Linked DNA regions of Homo sapiens: all the other regions are linked to region 6. The links are contacts of gene promoters, found by promoter capture Hi-C in blood cells and fetal thymus (Javierre and others, 2016). All regions are on one chromosome and are shown on one strand. The core of a region is centred on a gene start or on the middle of the fragment in contact, and the rest is flanking DNA. Distances in the headings are between cores, read along the strand shown.

What was found. The method cuts DNA at HindIII sites, captures the fragments that hold promoters and counts their contacts. A CHiCAGO score of 5 or more calls a contact.
Region 1: a fragment that was not itself captured here is called in contact with the fragment with the promoter of ZBTB2 in region 6 in 5 of 17 cell types (fetal thymus, naive CD8 T cells, total CD8 T cells and 2 more); the score reaches 12.1 in fetal thymus.
Region 2: a contact is called between a fragment that was not itself captured here and the fragment with the promoter of ZBTB2 in region 6, in 1 of 17 cell types (fetal thymus). The highest score is 6.1, in fetal thymus.
Region 3: the fragment with the promoter of GINM1 here is called in contact with the fragment with the promoter of ZBTB2 in region 6 in 3 of 17 cell types (neutrophils, fetal thymus and naive CD4 T cells); the score reaches 8.1 in neutrophils.
Region 4: a contact is called between a fragment that was not itself captured here and the fragment with the promoter of ZBTB2 in region 6, in 1 of 17 cell types (fetal thymus). The highest score is 6.8, in fetal thymus.
Region 5: a contact is called between a fragment that was not itself captured here and the fragment with the promoter of ZBTB2 in region 6, in 1 of 17 cell types (fetal thymus). The highest score is 5.5, in fetal thymus.
Region 7: a fragment that was not itself captured here is called in contact with the fragment with the promoter of ZBTB2 in region 6 in 2 of 17 cell types (fetal thymus and non-activated CD4 T cells); the score reaches 8.4 in fetal thymus.

What each region holds. Positions count from the first base shown.
Region 1 is chr6:149,541,961-149,545,023 of GRCh38, forward strand. All of the region lies in intron 1 of PPIL4 (peptidylprolyl isomerase like 4), which reads right to left. Among named protein-coding and RNA genes, the nearest start is that of PPIL4, 2.6 kb to the right of the region's middle. The HindIII fragment of the contact is 1,724 bases long and covers 596-2,319 here.
Region 2 is chr6:149,708,546-149,711,373 of GRCh38, forward strand. The region is part of intron 1 of LATS1 (large tumor suppressor kinase 1); the gene reads right to left. Among named protein-coding and RNA genes, the nearest start is that of LATS1, 8.1 kb to the right of the region's middle. The HindIII fragment of the contact is 9,596 bases long and covers 1-2,828 here.
Region 3 is chr6:149,564,493-149,567,624 of GRCh38, forward strand. GINM1 (glycosylated integral membrane protein 1) reads left to right here and starts at 1,883. Exons shown (of 8, transcript NM_138785.5): 1 at 1,883-2,042. The coding sequence starts at 1,923. RefSeq lists enhancers at 1,050-1,179, 2,430-2,479 and a silencer at 1,610-2,159. The HindIII fragment of the contact is 6,228 bases long and covers 1-3,132 here.
Region 4 is chr6:150,078,866-150,082,049 of GRCh38, forward strand. No RefSeq gene overlaps it. Among named protein-coding and RNA genes, the nearest start is that of ULBP3, 11 kb to the left of the region's middle. The HindIII fragment of the contact is 804 bases long and covers 1,445-2,248 here.
Region 5 is chr6:150,006,770-150,009,807 of GRCh38, forward strand. No RefSeq gene overlaps it. Among named protein-coding and RNA genes, the nearest start is that of RAET1L, 17 kb to the right of the region's middle. RefSeq lists an enhancer at 1-282. The HindIII fragment of the contact is 6,353 bases long and covers 1-3,038 here.
Region 6 is chr6:151,390,195-151,393,030 of GRCh38, forward strand. It overlaps ZBTB2 (zinc finger and BTB domain containing 2), which reads right to left and starts at 1,365. Exons shown (of 3, transcript NM_020861.3): 1 at 1,226-1,365. LOC124901232 (translation initiation factor IF-2-like) reads left to right here. Exons shown (of 3, transcript XM_047419613.1): 2 at 1-278; 3 at 511-2,836. The coding sequence ends at 1,410. RefSeq lists silencers at 1-856, 937-1,326, 1,337-1,396 and an enhancer at 1,378-2,250. The HindIII fragment of the contact is 3,903 bases long and covers 1-2,585 here.
Region 7 is chr6:149,755,204-149,758,088 of GRCh38, forward strand. The region is part of intron 1 of PCMT1 (protein-L-isoaspartate (D-aspartate) O-methyltransferase); the gene reads left to right. Among named protein-coding and RNA genes, the nearest start is that of PCMT1, 6.9 kb to the left of the region's middle. The HindIII fragment of the contact is 5,765 bases long and covers 1-2,885 here.

The sequences.
Region 1 (3,063 bases), core at 208-2,707, 1.8 Mb before region 6:
CCAAGATCGCACCACTGCACTCCAGTCTGGGCAATAGAGCAAGACTCTATCTCAAAATAAAATAAAATAAAATAAAATAAAAGGGCAATAAGTCTAGAAAAAAAACATTTTAAATTACCTTTTTTTTTCCTTTAATAGGAGTTTTGGGGCATCTGGGCTAATACAGAAAACTGACACTTATAAGCAATCATTTACTGATGGATTGATTTTATTACGAGAAAAAAGAACACTTAAAGAGCATATTGTAGTAGAAAAGGATCTAGCAGAATATATAAAAATGGATACGGATTATATCAATTAGGAAAAAGTCAAACACCCGGGGTCATTTTTTAAATAATAGTTAAACAGCCCTTTATAAAAATCCATACACTTATGAACAACCTTTCTCATACAAGTTAATCTGCTTATCCAATAAACATTTACTGAGTACCTTCTAGATGCCTGACACTGCCATCACAAATGCCATTAAACTGTGGTCCCTGCTCCCAAAAAGTTCACAGTCTAGTCGTGGAAAGACACATTAACAAGCTCTTAAGGCACTAAGTTAGAAACCAAACAGACAGTAAGATATATGAGGCAATCCCTGCCCTCAAAAAGCTTACATTAAATTAGGGTCCTTACATCTGAACACAAGTAGTTACATACTGGGCATATCTAATTAATAACATGTGTGCCACTTATTTAAAATGGTAAAAAAAGTAGTTTTAAAAATTCCACAAGAGTTCAAAAGATTGTTTCTGGCTAGGGAAATTAGAAAACCTCAGGGAAGGTTAAGGCAAGCATTAAAAGAACTGGACTAGCAGAGAGTGAAGGGTGAGCATTTTAGGTCTGGAAGACTATGAAAAGGCCTGGAAGTGGAAATTTAAATGTTTTAGGGGAGGTCCAAAACACCAAAGTTCTGTAATAGTCTGGTATTACACAGTAATAGAGCATGAAAAGACTGGAGAGATAAGATGGGGCTGAGCTGTTGAAGAGTGCTGAATATCAGTCTTGCAGTTGTTTTTCTTGAATATATTTCTGGGCTTCATGTTTAACAGATAGGGGTGGTCCTTTTACTAGAAACAAAAATAATGAATTTAGGCAATGATCATCAATGGCTGCCAAAATCTTTAGGTCTTTCATCAAAATCCGATGGGAACAATTTATAAGCGCAACAAGGCCTTAACCCACTGACCAATTTTAACATCACAGAGCCAACCAGACATCAAGTGCCTCCTGAATGTGATGCAGCTGAAAGTACACACTATCTTATATGAAATATTCTTGCCAAAAACATTAAACTGGAACCTAATCAAGGCTCTGAAGCTAAAGAACAATTTATAGGAAACAGGGGACACAAAAATATGTTAACGCACCCAGTAAATAATCAGTCGAATCCAAACAAGAGAAATTCTACAAGACAAAGCACCCAGGTTGTTTCTCAAAATTTTTTCAAGGAAAAAAGGGGGAGAACCAATAGATTAAAACATATATGAGACATTTTAACCAATATATGGACTTTGGGTCCTAATTTAAATCACCATATTTTTTAGAAGTTTATGAGATAATAAGAAAGTTTAAATGATACTAAAAATTATTGCTAGTTTTTTCAAAGTGTGATAAGATCTGTGGTTCTGTTTTTTTATTCTTTTTTACAACTTTTTCTCTTTCCTTTAGTATTTTTCCCTTTTCCCTGTCAAGTTTTTTTTCTTTTTTAACCTGTCACTTATGTGGTACTTAAGCTCATAGTTCCATTTTTTCTTGTTTTTTTTAAAGAGACGTTATATTTTAGAAATACATACTGAAGTAATTACAGATTAAATAGATGCACTGGAGGTGGGGGTATTATAAATGAAGCAAGATTGGCTATGTGTTCACAGCTGTTAAACAAAGCTGGTCATGTGGACATGAGAGTTCATTTACATGATTCTCTCTACATCTGTGTTTTAAATTTTCTATAATAAAAAGTTAAAAAAGAAAAGGAAGAAAGAATGGAAGGTAGGTAAGTCTGGATATGTTGATCATAGATTGATAAGTGAGTATAAATATAGCAGGTACACATGTAAGCACATCTCCAGTCATATGCTTACAAATATGTACAGGGGGTGGACTTATTGTTATGGGCTTATCTTTGCAGACCCACTGCTTGTTAATTGGGTGGGGTAGCTCTACACCCCTTTATTTCCTCATAACTCTGGGAAAAGAGGCCCATTTATTTTGCCAGGTGCTACTCTACATGGGCAGAGCGTCAAAGGAACTCAAAGAAAAGCAAAATCAAGAGATAAAAAACAAAATTCCCTATGATATTCTTTGAAACACTCGATCCAGCCACTCGATCCAAGCTTACCCCAGTATTATGAGGCAACCAATTATTTTGTTTATGCCAGTTTGAGTTGGGTTTCTATCACTTGAACAAAGGGTCCTAACTAATACAACACATTTATATCCATTAGTCATCATAATGAACCTCTAGTGTGTGCCCTAAAAGTAGCAGACATTGTACTGGGTACTCAGGATATAGAGATGATAATTATGGTATAGTTCCTGCTCTCATTGGAGTTTACATTCTTGAGCGAGGGCACGCTTGTAAACAACACCAGGATAATAGGTAAATGTTAAAATAAAATGTGTCATGTGGTTTATAAAAGACCTAAGACACAGCAGAGGAACCCTCAGGTAACTCTGCTTAGAAAGGAGGGAGAGCTTCAAAGAAGAGATGATGCTTGATCTGAGATTTAGATAATAAGTAGTAAGTTTGCCAGAAGGACAATAGTGGAGAAGAATATTGTTTAGAAGAAACAGCAAAAGAATGGTAACAATGGTACGGGAGAGTTTGTAGTGTTTTCGCCAGGTGGAGAGGAGGGAGGAATAGCTGCGTGCGAGGGAAAGCGGAGCACGGCAGGAGGTAGTTATTGTACAATATTGCAACTTATTTCACCTTCTTTGATAGGCTCTGCATTCCATGTGGGTAGGACCCTGTTTGTAACTAATCTCTCCTGGTCTCAGTTTCTTCCTGACTCTGATACATTCTCCACACCGCTGCCTATTATCTTCTCAAAACAAGTATGCCATGCCTCAATCCTG
Region 2 (2,828 bases), core at 301-2,800, 1.7 Mb before region 6:
TTCACATACAGTACTCGACTCCATTTCCCAGATTTGGCCAAAGCTGGATGAGCAGATGTAACATATCTCAATTCTGGACTGAGGCAGTTAAAAGTCACTTTGCTTCGGTTTTCCTGCTTTAATGACAATGTAGGTTACATTCTGAGATGGTGGCTTGACAATATGGAAGGAAGGTGGATCCCTAAGCCACTGGATGGAGAACCCTACTGACTCCCACTGAACTCTGAGCAAGAGAAACATTTCTGTTGTGTTAAGCCATTGATATTTGGGGATTTGTTACCACAAAACAGCCTAATAACATTGTGAAAATAGACAAAGACTGCCCAAATGGAAACAAACAAAGGCTATTTAATTAGATCTTACTATATAGGTAGGGAGTCAGCCACTGTCAACTTGTGCTTGGCAAAGATTCAAAGGCAAGCAGGGGAGTGGGAAATCTTTATACTAAAAAAAGGGGGAAGACATCAGGTATGCTCTGATTGTAGGTTGTTGGCATGGGAAACTGGAGGTGGGCTAACTGATGTAAACCAAAAATAAAATTCTAAGTCCTTCAACCATCTGAATGAACCCCTCCTCCCAGCCAAGAGCATTTGAAAGTTAACCTGAAAAACTAGTTCCAGCCATGATGGGAAGCGGAGTTTGGCCATACCTCATTATTCCCTCCTCCCTGTTGGAATTCAGGCACAGCTGACCAGCACTAACATTAAAACAAATCTTAAGACTGACAAAACAGACTCTCTGTAGCAATAAGATACCCAATTCCAGCCTGACTCTAGCATAGTATCACATGACAGATGGCAGGCCCTGAAAGAAATCCAAGTATTTGACCCCAAATTATGTTTCTTTGCCATATCTTCAAACAGTCCTGCAAAGCTGTCTCTTGTGCGGAAAATCTACATTCTGAAGTTAATTCCCTTCCTTTCTCAGGCCTTTTGCCTGATCCAGGAGAGAATCAACCCTGATAAGAAACATTTACAATGTATTATCTCTGAAGCCTGCCACCTGGAGGCTTCCTTTACATAATGGGAACTTTGGTCTCCACAACCCCTTACCTTGGCTCAGACATTCCTTCCTATTGATTCTATCTGCATAATGGGAACCCTGGTCTCCACAACCCCTTATCTTTTTTTTTTTTTTTTTTTTTTTTTTAGATGGAGTCTCACTCTGTTGCCCAGGTTGGAATGCAGTGGCTTGATCTTGGCTCACCACAATCTCCGCCTCCCGGTTTCAAGTGATTCTCCTGCCTCAGCCTCCTGAGTAGCTGGGATTACAGGCGTGCGCTACCATGCCTCGCTAATTTTTGTATTTTTAGTAGAGATGGGGTTTCACTATGTTGGCCAAGCTGGTCTTGAACTCCTGACCTCGTGATCCACCTGCCTCGGCCTCCCAAGGTGTTGGGATTACAGGCGTGAGCCACTGTGCCTGCCCACAACCCCTTATCTTAACCTAGATACTCCCTTCTATTGATTCTAGGTCTTTAGACAGTAACAACTCTTTCGACCAACTGCCAATCAGAAAATCTGTGAATCTACCTATGACCTGGAAGCCATCTGCTTCAAGGTGTCTTCCTTTCTGGACCTAACCAATGTACATCTTACATATACTGATTGATGTCTTATGTCTCCCTAAAATGTATAAAACCAAGCTGTAGTCTGATCACCTTGGGCACATGTTCTCAGGAGCTCCTGAGGGCTGTGTCATGGGGCAATAGCCATTCATATTTGGCTTAGAATAGATCTCTTAAAATATTTTACAGAGTTTGACTCTTCGTCGACACTGGAAGCGGGGTATCCTATGTGGTTGATTTGGGAAGCATATTTGGCTTTCTCTGAGTCGTCCCGAATTGGAAGAAGGCACAAAAATTAGGGAAGCTGGTAATTACTGACCAAGTCCTGACTGGGCCTATTGCTACATAGGTCATGGGTCAGAGTTCTAGTTTTATATATGATCTGGCCATTGTCCATCTGTATATTCAGTGTTTCATTATCCTAATACAGAAAACTGGTACCTGGAAGTGAGGTGCTGCTACAATAAAAACCTATGCAGTCCTGCCTTAGTGATACTGCCTTAGTGGTCAGATTAAGGGCTGAGAGGAAACAGATACCGGAGGCTGGAAAGATGGAGGATCATGTTTTATAGTGGCAAAATATCTGGTAACGCTGTTGCCTATAATAACTTTTCATACAACTACAAGGTCAGTGAACATACAAAGAGGCTACTGACCTTGTAGTGTTATAGGAGTTTGGTAAAGAGGATTTTGGAAGTGAGTATTGGCTGCTATTAGATATTTGGCAAGTATTATAAGTAAATGATGAGTTCAAGAAGGAAGTAGTAGATTTGAAAGCAAAAACAGAAGAGAATAGAAAAAGTTCAGAAATTTAAAGCCTTGAAGGATTGGAAAAGCAGCTTGTACCTAGACCCCTAGAGGCAGGATTAAAAGACTGAGCACAGATGCCCACTGAAACCCCTTAGCTAACTAGTGCTTCTGTGGTTAAGACCATATTAAAGACGTAGCCTTCCCATCAAACCTAATAGCCTCAAACAACCAAATGAGAGGAGGAGGAATAGACGCTCTTAAATCTTTGGATGAGTTTACCAATACATGTGAACTTCGACTGTGGTTACTGACACATAGAACTGAAGGAAACCAAACAGATCGGAAGAGGCTTACTAACTTTAAAGAAACTGTTTTGTTAAAAAAAAAAAAAATATCTTTTGGCCGGGCACGGTGCCTCACACCTGTAATTCCAGCACTTTGGGAGGCCGAGACAGGCGGATCACGAGGTCAGGAGTTTGAGACCAGCCTGGCCAATAAGGTGAAACCTCAT
Region 3 (3,132 bases), core at 633-3,132, 1.8 Mb before region 6:
GGGCTTACTCTAGCAAGCTGTTTGCTTTAAGGTTTGGCCACCCTCTTCCTGGAGCTCACATCTATCTGACGAGACAGATAAACAATAAAGAATAATGGACAGTTAGACCATGGGAAAGGCTTTGTAAGAAAACAGAGAGCCTCAACTTTACCTATTATCTTTTCATATAGACGTACTTTGTAACCTTATATTACTAATTCAAATTATACAGATCCACATGTCATGTTTTCTGACTTCCAGATTCTTTTTTTTTTTTTTGGAGACGGAGTCTCGCTCCACCGCGCAGGCTGGAGTGCAATGGCGCGATCTTGGCTCACTGCAACCTTCGCCTCCTGGGTTCAAGCGATTCTCCTGCCTCAGCCTCCCTAGTAGCTGGAATTACAGGTGCGTGCCAGTATGCCTGGATAATTTTTGTATTTTTAGTAGAGATGGGGTTTCACCATGTTGGCCAGGCTATTCTCGAACTCCTGACCTCAAGTGATCCACCCGCCTCGGCCTCCTAAAGTGTTGGGATTACAGGCGTGAGCCACTGCACCCGGCTTCTAGATTCCTTTTTTTTTTTTTTTTTTTAATAGACTCAGGCGATCCTCCTGCCTGCGTTTGCTGCATAGCTGGGAGTACAGGCACAAATGACCACGCCCATCTCCAAATTCATTTTTAATTCCAGCAGTAGGAAAAAAAGGAAAAGGCCAAGTTTGCAGATGGAACCCAGAAGTGTGTGGGGCTTCGCTGTGAAATCACTTGTAGCTTAACAATGGCGTGGGGAATCTCAGAGTAAGCCCGGAGTTAGTTGAAAGGAGTCTTTAGCCAAAACGTTTATAATTTATTCTGGGGCGGGGCCGGGGGAGGGGGCGGTGGCGGTCAGCAGGCCTGTGGGAGGAGGGTGTTCAAAGGAGTAAAGGGGGCTCAAAGAGAGAAATAGATTCTTGTTTCCTTTTTCATGTCAAAAGTTTTATTTCATGTCAAAAGTTTTATTTCAAAGGAAGACTAAATATTACTCTTATTCTGCCTGAATGGCCAAGTTTCCAAGTTTTTCTCAATCAACATGCAATCCTGTTAATCTAAAATGCTTGAATTTCTTGCTACTCTGCTTTACAGGGTTCCGTAACTTTTTTTTTTTTTTAAATCTGCAAGGTGGAAGAAAAGTCTAACACTTTCACTTTAGAGTTACGATACTGACCAAAAAGGCACTGACAGCCCAGGTGCGCTGGCTTCCTTCCAGCTGAGCGCTGTCCCCGCGCCGCCTCCAGGGGTCGGCAGAATGCTGAACAGTAAGCATGGCGCATCCTCAACCTTGGCCCCACAATGAATCACCCGAGAAAATTAAAAAACCACCAGGGCCCGAGCCGCAGCCCAGGCTGGAAAGTGGGGTGTTCAGGAAGACCCCAGTACTTTTTAAAGCTGCCCGGGAGAGTCCCACGTGCAGCCAAGGGTGGGGAATTACCCACTTAATAAAAACTTCCCCTGTAAATGCGATGTTTCATTTTTAATGTATAACAGTTTTCTGAAATATTACCGTTGTTTTCATCGTATAGGTACATGTACATGTGCACACACAGACACATGCATGTGTGTAAATACTAATTTTAAAAATAATGGTTACGAGGACATTTACATCGCTCCAGTTGGAGTCCTGTCCAATCCTGAGGGCGGGTCTAATGAGGGGCCGTACCTTCCAAGATTTCACTCCGCCCCTCGACGCCGCGCGGCGCTGCGCGTGCGCAAACGCCTTTCCCTGGCGAGCCGGATCTCGGAGCGTCCCCGCGCCTCTCCGCGGCCGCCCGGGGAGGGGAGGGCCCGTCCCGCCCCTCCCCGTCTCTCCCCGCCCCTCCCCGTCCCTCCCGCCGAAGCTCCGTCCCGCCCGCGGGCCGGCTCCGCCCTCACCTCCCGGCCGCGGCTGCCCTCTGCCCGGGTTGTCCAAGATGGAGGGCGCTCCACCGGGGTCGCTCGCCCTCCGGCTCCTGCTGTTCGTGGCGCTACCCGCCTCCGGCTGGCTGACGACGGGCGCCCCCGAGCCGCCGCCGCTGTCCGGAGCCCCACAGGTAGGGCAGGGCGGGCCTGGCTGGCCGCTTTACGACTCCGACTCTCCGGGAGGCCCGGGCTGTCCACAGTGACGCTTCCCACATCCCACCGGCGGGCAGGGGCGGGGGTCCGGGCCCCCGAAGGAGGTGTGGGGAGAAGCACCCCAGGAAATGGGGGCGGCGTGGGAGGCCGAGGTAAGAGGAAAGGGACCCACTGGGGCTGCGTCGCTGTGAGTGAGCCTCGAGCCACTCCACACCGACTCTCCGGCGGCCCAAGCCGGCGCGCGACCTGACGGGGCTTTGCCGTCGAAGCGCGCGGTTGCCGGTGATCAGGCCTTCGTAATGGCGCCTTCCCGGGGTAGAGCCAGCGCTTGGGCAAGGAATGTTTGTGTGCTCGGGAAGTGTGGAAGTTGCCCACTTCGCGCATTTCCAGGCCACTTGTGCCTGCTCGGCCTGCGATCGCGAGGGTCCGCCGTTCCGAGGCTGCGGGGCTCCGCCGGGCTCAGGTGGGCAGAGGGAGAGACCTGGCCCTCGCGCGACGTAATGTTTTTGTCGGATGTTGGAGGAGAAGTTCTCACGGCGGGGCGCGATCGGCGGTGTCCGCATCCCCTGGGGACTCAGCCCGGCCTCTGGGGGCGGGGCCCAGCAGTCCGGGTTGGAGAGTCCTGCAGGTGCTTCTGATGCCAGCTGAGGTGGGAGAATCGAGGCATCCTAACATTAAAACGTGGCTGATGCTCACCATTCCTGCCGTAGAGTCGTGCCTACCTAGGCCAGTATCAGCCTTTTTTCAGTAGAATGGTAGGGAAAAGTTTGAATATTTTAAAGAGCAAGTGTTCTGAGAATGACAAGAAACTATGTCGGTACACCTCTTCCTAGTCAAGACTTGAATATGAACACTCTAAATACAAAGGCGAAGGGCACGGTAAGTGTCACTTTGACCAACAAGGTGAAACCCCGTCTCTACTAAAAATAGAAAAATTAGCTGGGCGTGGTTGCAGGTGCCTGTAGTCCCAGCTACTCGGGAGGCGGAGACAGGAGAATTGCTTGAACCCGGGAGGCAGAGGTTGCAGTGAGCCGAGATCGTGCCACTGCATTCCAGCCTGGGTGAGGG
Region 4 (3,184 bases), core at 597-3,096, 1.3 Mb before region 6:
TCTGTCTCTGTTGCACATTTCAGCTGGTTCTCATTTTTGCTATCTTATCTCCCTATGTGGTTGGTTATCTTTGTCTATGTTCTGGATACGATGTTTTAAAAATTGCTGTTGACAGAATATAAAGTGTAGGATGGGCTGGCCATAGTGACTCATTCCTATAATCCCAGCACTTTGTGAGGCTGAGGTGGGGCAGATGGCTTGAAGCCAGATGTTTGAGACCAGTCTGGGCAACATGGTAAAACCTTGTCTCTAGTAAAAATACAAAAATTAGCTGGGCATGGTGTCATGCACCTGTAGTTTCAGCTACTCGGGAGACTGAGGTGGGAGGATCACCTGGGCCTGGGAGGTGGAGGCTGCTGTGTGCTGTGATCGTGCCACTGCACTCTAGCCTGGGTGACAGAATGAGACCCCATCTCAAAAAAAAAAAAAATAGGATGATATTACCTTCCTCCAGAAATGAATTTCATTTGCTTATATCAGGCACTTTGTAGCTATAAAATTGCTTGAATTTTGCTGCAGGAATTGAGATATTTTGGGACATTCAGAAGCCTTGAACCTGGACTGCCTTCTGTTTGAAGACTGGTTGATCTTCAGTCCACCTTTACTCCGAGGGTCCAGTCCCACTCTTGGCAGACTCTGGACTCCAACATCTGTTTGCATAGCCCCATGAAGCCATCCAAAGCCCATGTGAGCCACTAGGATCAAAAGGCTGCTGACTCTTTACCACATCACTACTGCCACAGTTAGGAAGCCACCAAGACAAGGAAGGAATCCATCCATAATCAGAAACCTACCACCCTCAGAAGCCACATCCGCTGTTGCCTGCTCCAGACCCCACTGTGCCTGCGAAGATTTTCAGCTTCAAAGTGGATGCCACGTGCCCTGCTCTCAGCACCTCAGAGCCAGCGACCAGAGCCCAAGACCTCAGCTAATGCTGCCCAGAAACCTGAATATCTCCCCTGCTGGGCTTGGCAGCAAGAGCAGCAGATGCCTGGTCCCTGCTGCAATTCCCCCACATTAGAGTGACTGAATCTGCACCACATCCTGACTCTGGTTGTAAAGGAGTCTGGGAAATGTAGTTTTTAGCTTTCCTGTTTCTGTAGTATAGGAAGGCACAGCAGAAAGCAGGTGAATGGATTTATCCTTCCCCCATCTGCCCTCCAAGTACATACAATTATAATACCATTTGGTTTAAGTTTCAAAATATGCAAAATGATACCATATCTTGCTTACTGATATATCATACACGTGTAAATTCATGTACATCCATACACCTGTATCCATGTATCTACATATGTGCATATCCATATCTAAGTATACAATTGCCACAAAGACAGTAAGATCAGTAGTGGTTTCAAGCACCGGCCCTGCAGTCAGACTGCCTGCTTCAAAACCTGTGTTTGTGTGACATGGAGCATGCACGTTTCCTCAGTCTTGATTGCAAAGCTTATGCTTCTCTGTGTGTAAAATAGGCATCATGATAGTACCCACCTCAATATATTGCTGTGGGCCTCAAATAAGCCAATGCCTGTAATAGACTTAGCATGGTGCTTGGCTCGTGGTAATAAATACTCAGTGAATTGTAGCTCTTTCCATCATAGATAGCAGAAGGCCTAGGTGGTCAACCCAACTCACTGTATCAGCCTGACAAGCCACTTAACTCCTCCGGGTGTTCATTTCTTGTCTTTCAGATGAGGCAGTTGCCCTAAATGAGGTGAGTTCCTAAGCCAATGTCTCCAGGTCCTTAGGGGAGAGTGAGGTTATTTCCTTGGCATTTTATGGTGGGCATTGGAGAATCTGGCTTCCAGAGTTTTTATTGTTATTTTTTTCTTACAAACTCTTGTCGTTCTAACTTATCTCTAGATGCTACCTGAGAGAAACAGAAGATAAAACTACCACCAGGACGCACCAGCAGCATGACACAGGGCCAGTGACTTCGGCTGCTAAAATCAAGACGTACACCAGAGGGCGCTGCAGTTAAAGAGCGAGGCAGAGGTGAGCGGGCTGCCCGGGTCCAGTCTCCTAGGGTCTAGAAAAGCTATGAGCACAGGCCTTGGGGAGGCGGTAGGAGGACCTGAGGCTTCCATGAAAACCAAGGGCAAACATACTGTTTCATTCAGGCTTCGGCTACCTGGATGTGTGTTCCTCGGGAGAGTGGTTGTGTGTGGTTTTCGCACACCGATATGGATTGTTCTTATAAAGCTGAAAGGGCCACGTTCATAAAACAAAAATAAATAACAAAAATAAAAGCTTTTATCTTTTGCTGTGAATTCTTTTTTTTTTTTTTTTCTGAGACGGAGTCTCGCTCTGTCACCCAGGCTGGAGTGCAGTGGCGGGATCCCGGCTCACTGCAAGCTCCGCCTCCCGGGTTCACACCATTCTCCTGCCTCAGCCTCCCGAGTAGCTGGGACTACAGGTGTCCGCCACCGCACCGGCTAATTTTTTTGTATTTTTAGTAGAGGTGGGGTTTCACCGTGTTAGCCAGGATGGTCTCGATCTCCCGACCTCGTGATCCGCCTGCCTCGGCCTTCCAAATTACAGGCATGAGCCACCGCGCCGGGCCATGAATTCTTAAATAATGAAAAGTGCCTGCAGACTTCTCCTACTCGGTGAATGAGAAAATGTCCATGTTGGCACCCCGTCAAGAGGATAGGTTTTCACAGTACTTAGGGGAGACAACCTCCAGAAATAAAATAACCTTGTGGCAGTTTACTCACAGTGACTTCAGTCCTCAGGGAAAATATGGGCTCAACAAACTGTACACTAGGACTATAATAAATATTGGAGATGGATAATAATTAAAATATAATTTCAGTTAGTTGAAATATTATTCCATCAAACCATTTTTAACTCCAATACAGATATACTTTTTGAAAAAAAAAATGGAAATACAGGCAACTTCATAGAAAAAAGGCCCTCATAAATGTTAAATTTAAATTTTTTTTTTTTTTTTTTTTTAGACAGGGTCTCTCTCTGTCACCCAGGCAATCTCAGCTCACTGCAAACTCTGCCTCCTGGGCTCATGCAATCCTCTTGCCTCAGCCCCCAACCCCCAACCCCCACCCCCTCGCGGCAGTAGCTGAAATTACAGGCATGTACCACCACACCCAGCTAATTTTTGTATTTTTAGTAGAGATAGCATTTCACCATGTTGGCCAGGCTGGTCTTGAACTTCTGGCCTCAA
Region 5 (3,038 bases), core at 126-2,625, 1.4 Mb before region 6:
TGATTTAGAGATCATGCATTCAGACATGGAAGTCAGCTGATATTGCAGCTGAATATTCCTGTGCAAGGTTCTTCAGCTTTCTGGGCATGGATGTCCGCATGTGGAAAATGACAAATGCTATGAACACAGATGAAATGAGCAGATTCTACAAGGAACCCTGTCCTTGCACATGCTAAGGACCCAGGGCAGGTCTCCTATTTCAGTTGTGAGCCCTGCCGCCCTCCCTGAAGTCAGCAACTGCCAGGCCCACCCTGAGGAGAGCTGGAGCTCTGAACCCAGGCCGCGGCCTCTTCATGGCCCTGAGTGTGCTGTGAGGGGGTGGAAATGAAAGCGAGACCCGCAATCAGGACTCAGGCATGTTTTTCAGACCCACAGAGGATGATTTTTTTCTCCATCACCTGGTGAGCCTGACATGATGTAAGTGTGGTTGGAGGCTGAGTGAACCAGTGAATGAATGAGACAGTTGTGGGAGTGAGTGGGGCTGGGAGGAATAGCACAGGTGCAGAGGGGAGCTGGAGCGGAGGATGTAACCTCCAGGGGCCTGAAGGTGGCAGCATTGAGGTTGGTAAAATTTTTTTGCCCATTTTTCGTGTTTTAGTTTTTTTTTTTTAATTATACTTTAAGTTCTAGGGTACATGTGCACAACATGCAGGTTTATTACATATGTATACATGTGCCATGTTGGTGTGCTGCACCCATTAACTGGTCATTTACATTAGGTATATCTCCTAATGCTATCCCTTCCCCCTCCCCCTACCCCGCAACAGGCCCTGGTGTGTGATGTTCCCCTTCCTGTGTCCAAGTGTTGTCATTGTTCAATTCCCATCTATGAGTGAGAACATGCGGTGTTTGGTTTTTTGTCCTTGGGATAGTTTGCTGAGAATGATGGTTTCCAGCTTCATCCATGTCCCTACTTTTTTTTTTTTGAGGCGAAGTCTTGCTCTATTGCTCAAGCTGGAGTTCAGTGGGATGATCTCAGCTCAGTGCAACCTCCGGCTCCTGGATTCAAGTGATTCTCCTGCCTCAGCCTCCCAAGTAGCTGGGATTATAGGTGCCTGCCACTGTGCCTGGCTAATTTTTGCAATTTTAGTAGAGACAGGGTCTCACCATGTTGGCCAGGCTGGTCTCGATCTCCTGGCCTCAGGTGATCCACCTGCCTTGGCCTCTCAAAGTGCTGGGATTACAGGTGTGAGCCACTGCTCCCGGCCACAACTTGGAAATTTGTATGCCCACCTGGGTGTCCACAAAGATTTTCCAAGGAAGAGTAACTTTGGTTTTCAACCAGTCTGGGGTGCTTCATCAGGATAGAAACTTCTAGAAAACATAGTGTGATGATGGACAGCAAACTGCTGTCTTCATATGGTTTGACTGAGCCTAGGGCGCACCATGGCCAGGAAAATCTTGCCTTTGTTATTGTTGTTGTCATTATTATTATTATTATTATTTTATTATTTTTGACGGAATCTTGTACTGTTGCCCGGGCTGGTATGCAGTGGCACAATCTTCGTTCACTGCAACCTCCACCTCCTTGGTTCAAGTGATTCTCCTGCCTCAGCCTTCTCAGTAGCTAGGATTACAAACACCTACCACCACACCTGGCTAATTATTTTTATTTTTATTTTTAGTAGAGACGGGGTTTCACTATGTTGGCCAGGCTGGTCTCGAACTCCTGACCTCATGATCCGCCAGCCTTGGCCTCGGAAAGTGTTGGGATTAAAGCTGTGAGCCACTACGCCCTAGCCGAAAATCTTGTATTTAAGCAAAAAAGGAATGAGTCTGAAAGCAGGAATGGCATTGGGAAAAGATAAGGGGGCCAGGAGGAAAGTGAAGGAGAAAAGAAGGGTTAGGGTCTGAGAGGGAGCCAGGATCCAAGTATTTCCAGCCCCAGGGCCTGGAGTTGCAAGTGGGCGGGGCGGGGCCACTGGAGCTGTGACAGCATCGAGAGCCTCGGTGACTCACGTGGGGGCCCTCTGTTTCCTCCGGGTGTGTCACGCCCTGGGCTCCAGGTCCCCAGTGGCACAGGTGCTGGCACAGAGTTGGGTGTCTGCATCCAGCTTCTGTTCCTGGTGCCAGGATGGTCCAGGGTGGGTCGGGTCGGTGAGTTCCAGGCTGGACCCTAAACAGGGGTCATGGGGGTTCTTGGACTGCAGGGAGGCCAGGAGGAGGGGAGGCTTCTGTAAGCTCCTGAATGTCTCCCTGGAATGTAATGCAGCATTGCAGGCTGGAGCCAGCCTGGCATGGGGAGAGAGATGTGAGACTGATGAAGAGCGTGCAGCCTGATTTAAAGCCAAACCCTGAGTCCTTTCCAAGAACTATAAAGCATATTGTAGTCGCTAAAAGAAACAAATACAAAAAAACAAAGTAGCCTTTCTTGGCAGATACAGCACCTTTTATTTTTAATCTTTACATTTAACATTGCCTTTTTAAAATACTGTATATTATTCGATATTTTAAAATCCAACCTGGGAGTTTCGCTGATTTATGTGATGAGTTTAGTAATTCACGTTTATTGTTAATTATTACTGTTTAGGATTTAGCTATGCCATTTTTTTATTTTTTATTTTTTTTTTGATACTAGCTCTCTCTGTTGTCCAGGCTGGAGTGCAATGGCGTGGTCATAGCTCACTGCAGCCTCTAACTCCTGGGCTCAGGCCATCTTACTGCCTCAGCCTCCGAGTAGCCAGGACTACAAGCATGCGCCACCCACTGGGCTAATTTTCTGTATTTGTTTGTAGAGATGGGGTCTGCCTATATTGCAAAGGGTGGTCTTGAACTCCTGAGCTCAAGCGATCCTCCCACCTCGGCCTCCCAAAGTGCAGGGATTACAGGCGTGAGCCACTGTGCCTGGTGCACATGTATTTATTGTGTTTTTTAATGCTGGCATTTCCCCTCCGTAGCTGTGTTCCATTTAGTATACTGAGGGTTCTTTTCTGTTGGTTTAAAAGTTATACATTCTAGTTTTCTTCTCAGGGTGGCTGCCCTTAACCTATGACTCATACCAATATGTATTCACATTTATTGGTATTATTGGTTTTGTT
Region 6 (2,836 bases), core at 115-2,614:
CGAGCAGGCGACAAGGGCGGCGCCACAGAGGCCGACGCGTCCCCCGCCCGCCTGAGCGCGCCGCAACAGCCACCTCGTCCCACCCGCCCCGGGGCGGGGCCGGGGGCGCGGCGCCGGGGCCCTCTGGCCCCCTCCGGTCTCGCCGGCCCCGCCCCCTCCCTGTCCCCGTCCCCGAGGGGCTGAGGGGGAGGGAGGGGCGACGCACTCCGGCCGCGTTGCACGCTCGCCGCTTCCCTCAGTCCCGCGTGCGCGCGCGCGCTCGCCCCAAGTCCCGCGGAGTTTAACACAATGCCGACGCCTACGCCGTGCGCAACGCCCCGGCCGGCGCAACAGCCCCGGCGCCGGGGGCGGGGGTGGCCCAGACAGGGAGAGAGGGAGAGGGATGAGCGCGCGCGAGAGCCGGAGACAGCGCGAGACCCGAGGAGGCCGGAAGCGCGCGTGCGCGCCCCCGCCCGCGAGCGGGAGGCGGAGCCGCAGCAGTAGCGGCAGCAGCTGTAGGAGCCGCTGCAGCTGGGAGAAGCGCCAGAGAGGCCGGGCCTGCTCCGGTCGGACCGGATCCCTCCCCTCCCCCTCCCTCCTCCCTCCCCTCCCCCAAACCCACTTCCGCAGCTCGCGGCCTTGCCGCCGAAGCAGCAGCGGCGGCAGCAGCAGGAGGCGGCGGCGAGGCGTCGGAAGGATTACGCACCTGACGGGCCCGCCTCTGAGGGCTCCAGCGCGGGACGCTCACCGGCCGCCGCCGCCCAGGGCGCACTTCGCGGTGGCGGCGGGAAGGGAGGGACCGGCCACGGGGAACCGAACGCGAATCGCCCCCCTCCCCTTCCTCCCTCCCACCCTCCCTCCGATCCGCCGCCCGCCCTCTCGGCTTCCGTCCCCTCCCCCTCCCACAAAACCCCGGATGGAGGCGCCGCCGACTCGCCGCCGCCTGGCTCCGGGGGATGGTTTTGTCAAGCGGCCAGAGCCCCGGCGCCAGGCGCAGCCGCCGCCGCCCCCGCGAGGCGCCCCTGCCCTCGCTTCCCAGAACCGGGTCCCCGAGTGGCCCGGGCCTTCCGCCTGCCTGCACCCGTAGCCCTGGTACGAGGGTCATTCGTCGTCTTTGTTGCCACCGCCTCTGCCGGAACCGTTTGCGAGCTCCGGTGGCCCCCGCCCCCCCACCGCCTTCCCGGACCCTGGGCTGGGGGTGGCACGTGGGCACCGGCCCCGGGAGGCGGAGGCGGTGCGCGCTTACCTGTCGCCGGTGCTGCTGCGGCGGGGGGTGTGGAGGAGGCGCCTCTGGGCAGCCTCGGCCGTGCTGTCCTCCCCGCCGCCGCCGCCTCTGCCTCTCGCTGCTGCTGCTGCTGCTGCCGCCGCGGTCGGTGTCTCCGGCGCGGCGGCGGCGGCGGCGGCGGGGCTTTTCCTGTCCGGTTACGTTAAGGTCACATGACCGAGAGAGCGGAGAGACTAGTGCAAAGAGGCTGCGAGCGGCTCCCGCCGGGGGGGAGAGGCGGCGAGAGAGCAGTGGCGGCAAGAGCCCCCTCCGCCCCCCCCCCAGCCGCTCCCCTCCCCCCGCCCGCCTCCGCCTCCTGCTGCTCTGCCGCCGCCGCCGCCGCCTGCAGCACTCCACTGCCGCTCCCACCCAGGCTCCGCGCTCTGCTCCAGCCAAACTTCTGCAGACCATGTGCAGCCGAGGCGAGGAAACTTCTCTCCACCTATTGGGGCTGGAGGCCTGAGTCACAAGCCCCTTGTTTACATAAAGTGTTTAGGTAGCACAAGTCCTTGAGATGCTCGGGGTAGAGATGGAGAGCCACTGCTCGTATCCTTCTGCCGGCTTCTGCTTGAGATCTCTTGGCCTTTACCCTTGTCCCTTGACTTTTCGTGTTTGTTTTAATCTTTAAGACTTGAAATGGAGTGGCCTTTAGAACCGGGGAGATACTGTAAACCAGCAGTATCTTTGTGTCACCAATGGTAACTGAAAGTCATGCTGAAGTACAGATTCCTGTAGCGTGCACAGAGGCAGAGGTGCTTCCTTTACCTTGCAGATGAGTTGAGCGGCGTAAGATGTTTCTGTTAGGGTTGAATTTCATGGTTATTTCAGCAACGATTTTCGTTTTTGAAGTTTTGGCCCCCCCAAAAATGAAAGTCTGCAACGCATGTTTGTTAAGAGAACAGTTTATTCTCCTGTTAGGTTTTGGTCTTTGAGGTATGGATTCCAGAGTTGGCTATTCTGTTAGATTTAGAGGTGTGGAAAATCTTTTAACGGGGAGATCCTGAAACACGGAAACATGGCAGGGAAGTTAGAATTTCCTGATGGTCATTTTTAACATTTTAAAGTTTACTTTTTGGTTGTTGCCATTTTTCTAGAATCCGTGTCTTTTTTGGGGAAATACAGTCCTTTGAGGACTAGAATTTAATGATTTCTTTACACATCTAGGATTTTTTGAGATTTAGAAAGGATATGGCTTTATTCCTAAGGAAGTGGAGGCAGCAGTTTCTAGGATACTCTGGTTTCAAGGCATGCTAACTTGGTTGTGATGTCTAACCCATTTTGGTTTACACAGTCTGACCACTAGCACAATGCCTGGCACATAGTTTACAAATCATTTAAGGCAAGCTTACCATCTTAAGACAATTTAATACATAGAAGTGTCCCTCCTAAAAATCTGAGTTTGATTTAGAAATCCAGTTATACCTGCAGGTACTGATGACTAATTCCTTCTTTGAAGACAAAATAAGCAGCTGTGTAGCTTCAGTGGCTCTCAAATGGATAATAGATTCAGTGTATACTCGCTTTGAACTTTCCTGTTTTTTGATCAGCTAGATAAATGACTTTAGTGGGTAAATGTCTGCCTCCAAAACCAAA
Region 7 (2,885 bases), core at 103-2,602, 1.6 Mb before region 6:
GAGACCAGCCTAGGCAACATAGTGAAAATAACATTTGTCATTTTCTCTACAAAAAATAAACAAAATTAGCTGGGCATTATGGTGCATGCCTGTAGTCTCAGCTACATGAGCTACGTGGGAGGCTGAGATGGGAGGATCACTTGAGCCCGAGAGGTTGAGGGTGCAGTAAGCCAAGATCATGCCACTGCACTCGAGCCTGGGTGATGGAGCAATACTTTGTCTCAAAAAAAAAAAAATGTTGAGTATCTGTATGGGCTGTATGGGCTTTGGTATTGTATGCGGTTTCAGGCATCTATTAAGGGTCTTGGACCGTATTTCCTGTGGGTAAAGGGAAACTACTGTACTGACCACTGAAAGCAATTGTTCTTTTATCTATTTTTATTTGTAAAAATAATTCAGTCCATTCCCCTAATGATCAATTGTTTCTACTTATGTTTCTTTTGCATTCTTGATTTTGTCATTTTACATATATAATGTTTATGGAATTTGTCATTTAGTCAGCTGATATTTTAGTGCTTTCTATATGACAGGCACTGGGGATACAGCAGTGAACAAAACAAACATCCACTCCCTCTTGTAGCTTCTAATGGGAGCAGCCAAGTATAGTATGTCACATGATAAGTGACAAAGTAGGGAGGGAGGACAGAGTGTGTGGGGCAGTAGGTTTATAGTTGTAGAGAAGGCCTCAGTAAGGTATCATTAGACCAAAGATTTGCTGGAGGAGTAGACACATATCACGCAGGTAGACTTGGGATAAGCATTCCAGGCAGAAGAAATAGCGAATTCCAGATTTGGATTTAGGATCTGGGAGAAAAGATTGGAGGCAAGGATCCAACACCAAGGTTTTAGGCCTTGGCAACTGGAATGATTTGCCATTTTCTAAATTGGAAATGGTGAGTGAGTGAGCAGCCACGTTTATTCTGTGAGGAGGGGACTGTGGGAGATCAGATTATTTTGAGGAATGCTTTTCTTATAAGACATTTAAGTCGAGATTTTTAGTAGGCATTTGAATATGCAAGAATTATGATTTGTAGTTTTTATATCCTAAAAGCATTTACTTTTGTAAATAATGAAATTATTTTCTATCTACAGCACCAGTTCTTAGCCACTAGTAGGTGTTGCTAGTAGAAAAGAGCATTTATTCTTTCCCTTTTTTTTTTTTTGAGACAGAGCCTCTTTCTGTCGCCCAAGCTGGAGTGCCGTGGCGTGATCTTAGCTCACTGCAACCTCTGTTTCCTGGGTTCAAGCGACTCCTCCATCTCAGCCTCCCGAGTAACTGGGACTACAGATGCACACCACCATGACTGGCTTTTTTTTTTTTTTTTTTTTTTTTTTTTTTTTGGTAGAGACGGGGTTTTGTCATGTTGCCCAGGCAGGTCTCAAACCCCTGGGCTCAAGTGATCCACCCGCCTCAGTCTCCAATATTGCTGGGATTATAGGCATGAGCCCCTGCGCCCAGCCAGCATTTACTCTTAATATTCCACTACTTTTGTATGCACATGGGAAAAATAGAACCAGCTGGTAAAATCCTAAGAAATTGGAGCCTCAAAGTCCAGAGGCCTTCTCATTTTGACTTATTTCAAACCAGTCTTATGGATAGGTACTAGTAAGTAAACTTGAAATCCTATGTATATATTTAAATTTAAATTATATAAAAATAAATAAAATTGGCCGGGCGTGGTGGGTCATGCCTGTAATCCTAGCACTTTGGGAGGCCGAGGTGGGTGGATCACCTGAGGTCAGGGGTACCAGACCAGCCTGGCCAACAATGCGAAAACCCGTCTCTACTAAAAATACAAAAATTAGCTGGGCATGGTGACAGGAGCCTATAATCCCAGCTACTCGGAGGCTGAAGCAGGAGAATCGCTTGAACCCGGGGAGTGGAGTTTGCAGTGACCTGAGATCGCTCCATTGTACCCCAGCCTGGGTGAAAAAGCGAAACTGCCTCAAAATAAATACATAAATAAATAAAATTAAAAATTTATATCTTTAGTCATATTAGCCACATTTCAAGAGCTCAGTAGCCACATGGAGCTAGTGCCCACCCTGTTGGACAGTGCAGATAGAGAATAGATCTGCCATCACTGAAGGTTCTTTTGGATTGCAGTAGATCTTGATGCTTGGCTGTATTACATTCTGGTTAATGAGATCTTAGGCTGTAGGAGGGGAAAGATTCGATTGTGCTGTTACAAAAATATTTTTATTAATATTATATTTAGCTTTGGTTAAATGCTTTCAGGGTGGCAGTGTAAAACTAAAGATTATTGGATAAGAGTGATGAAGATAACAAGAGGATCAGCATCTTACATGGTGCTTTGAAGGGATGGAGGTGGTTTGGTTTAGCAAAACCTTTAGGGAGCAGTGGTGTTTAAATTTGAAGAAATGTCATGTAGTAGAGGGTCAAACCAGGACAAATGGGAGGCAGATTTTGGCTCATTATAAGTAAGTATTCACAAAGCTATCCTAACAATCAAAAAGTTGGCTTTGAAAAAGTGTTTTCTGTCACCAAATATGTTGAAGCAAAGAATGGTTGACCATTTCACTGTAAGGGATATTGTAGAAGGGATTTTGTCATCAGATTTGAATGTACACTAGATCTCTAAGGACCCTTCCAAATCCAAGATTCTGTGATTTTTTTCCCCAGTGGTCCCTTGTACCTAGATTTTATGATTTAAAAAATATTTTATTTTATTTTTTGAGACAGAGTCTCACTCTGTTGCCTAAGCTGGAATGCAGTGGTGTGATCTTGGCTCACTGCAACCTCTGCCTCTCCGGTTTAAGTGATTCTCGTGTCTTAGCCTCCCGAGTAGCTGGGACTTACAGGCACGTGCCACCATACCCAGCTAATTTTTGTACTTTTAGTAGAGATGGGGTTTCACCATGTT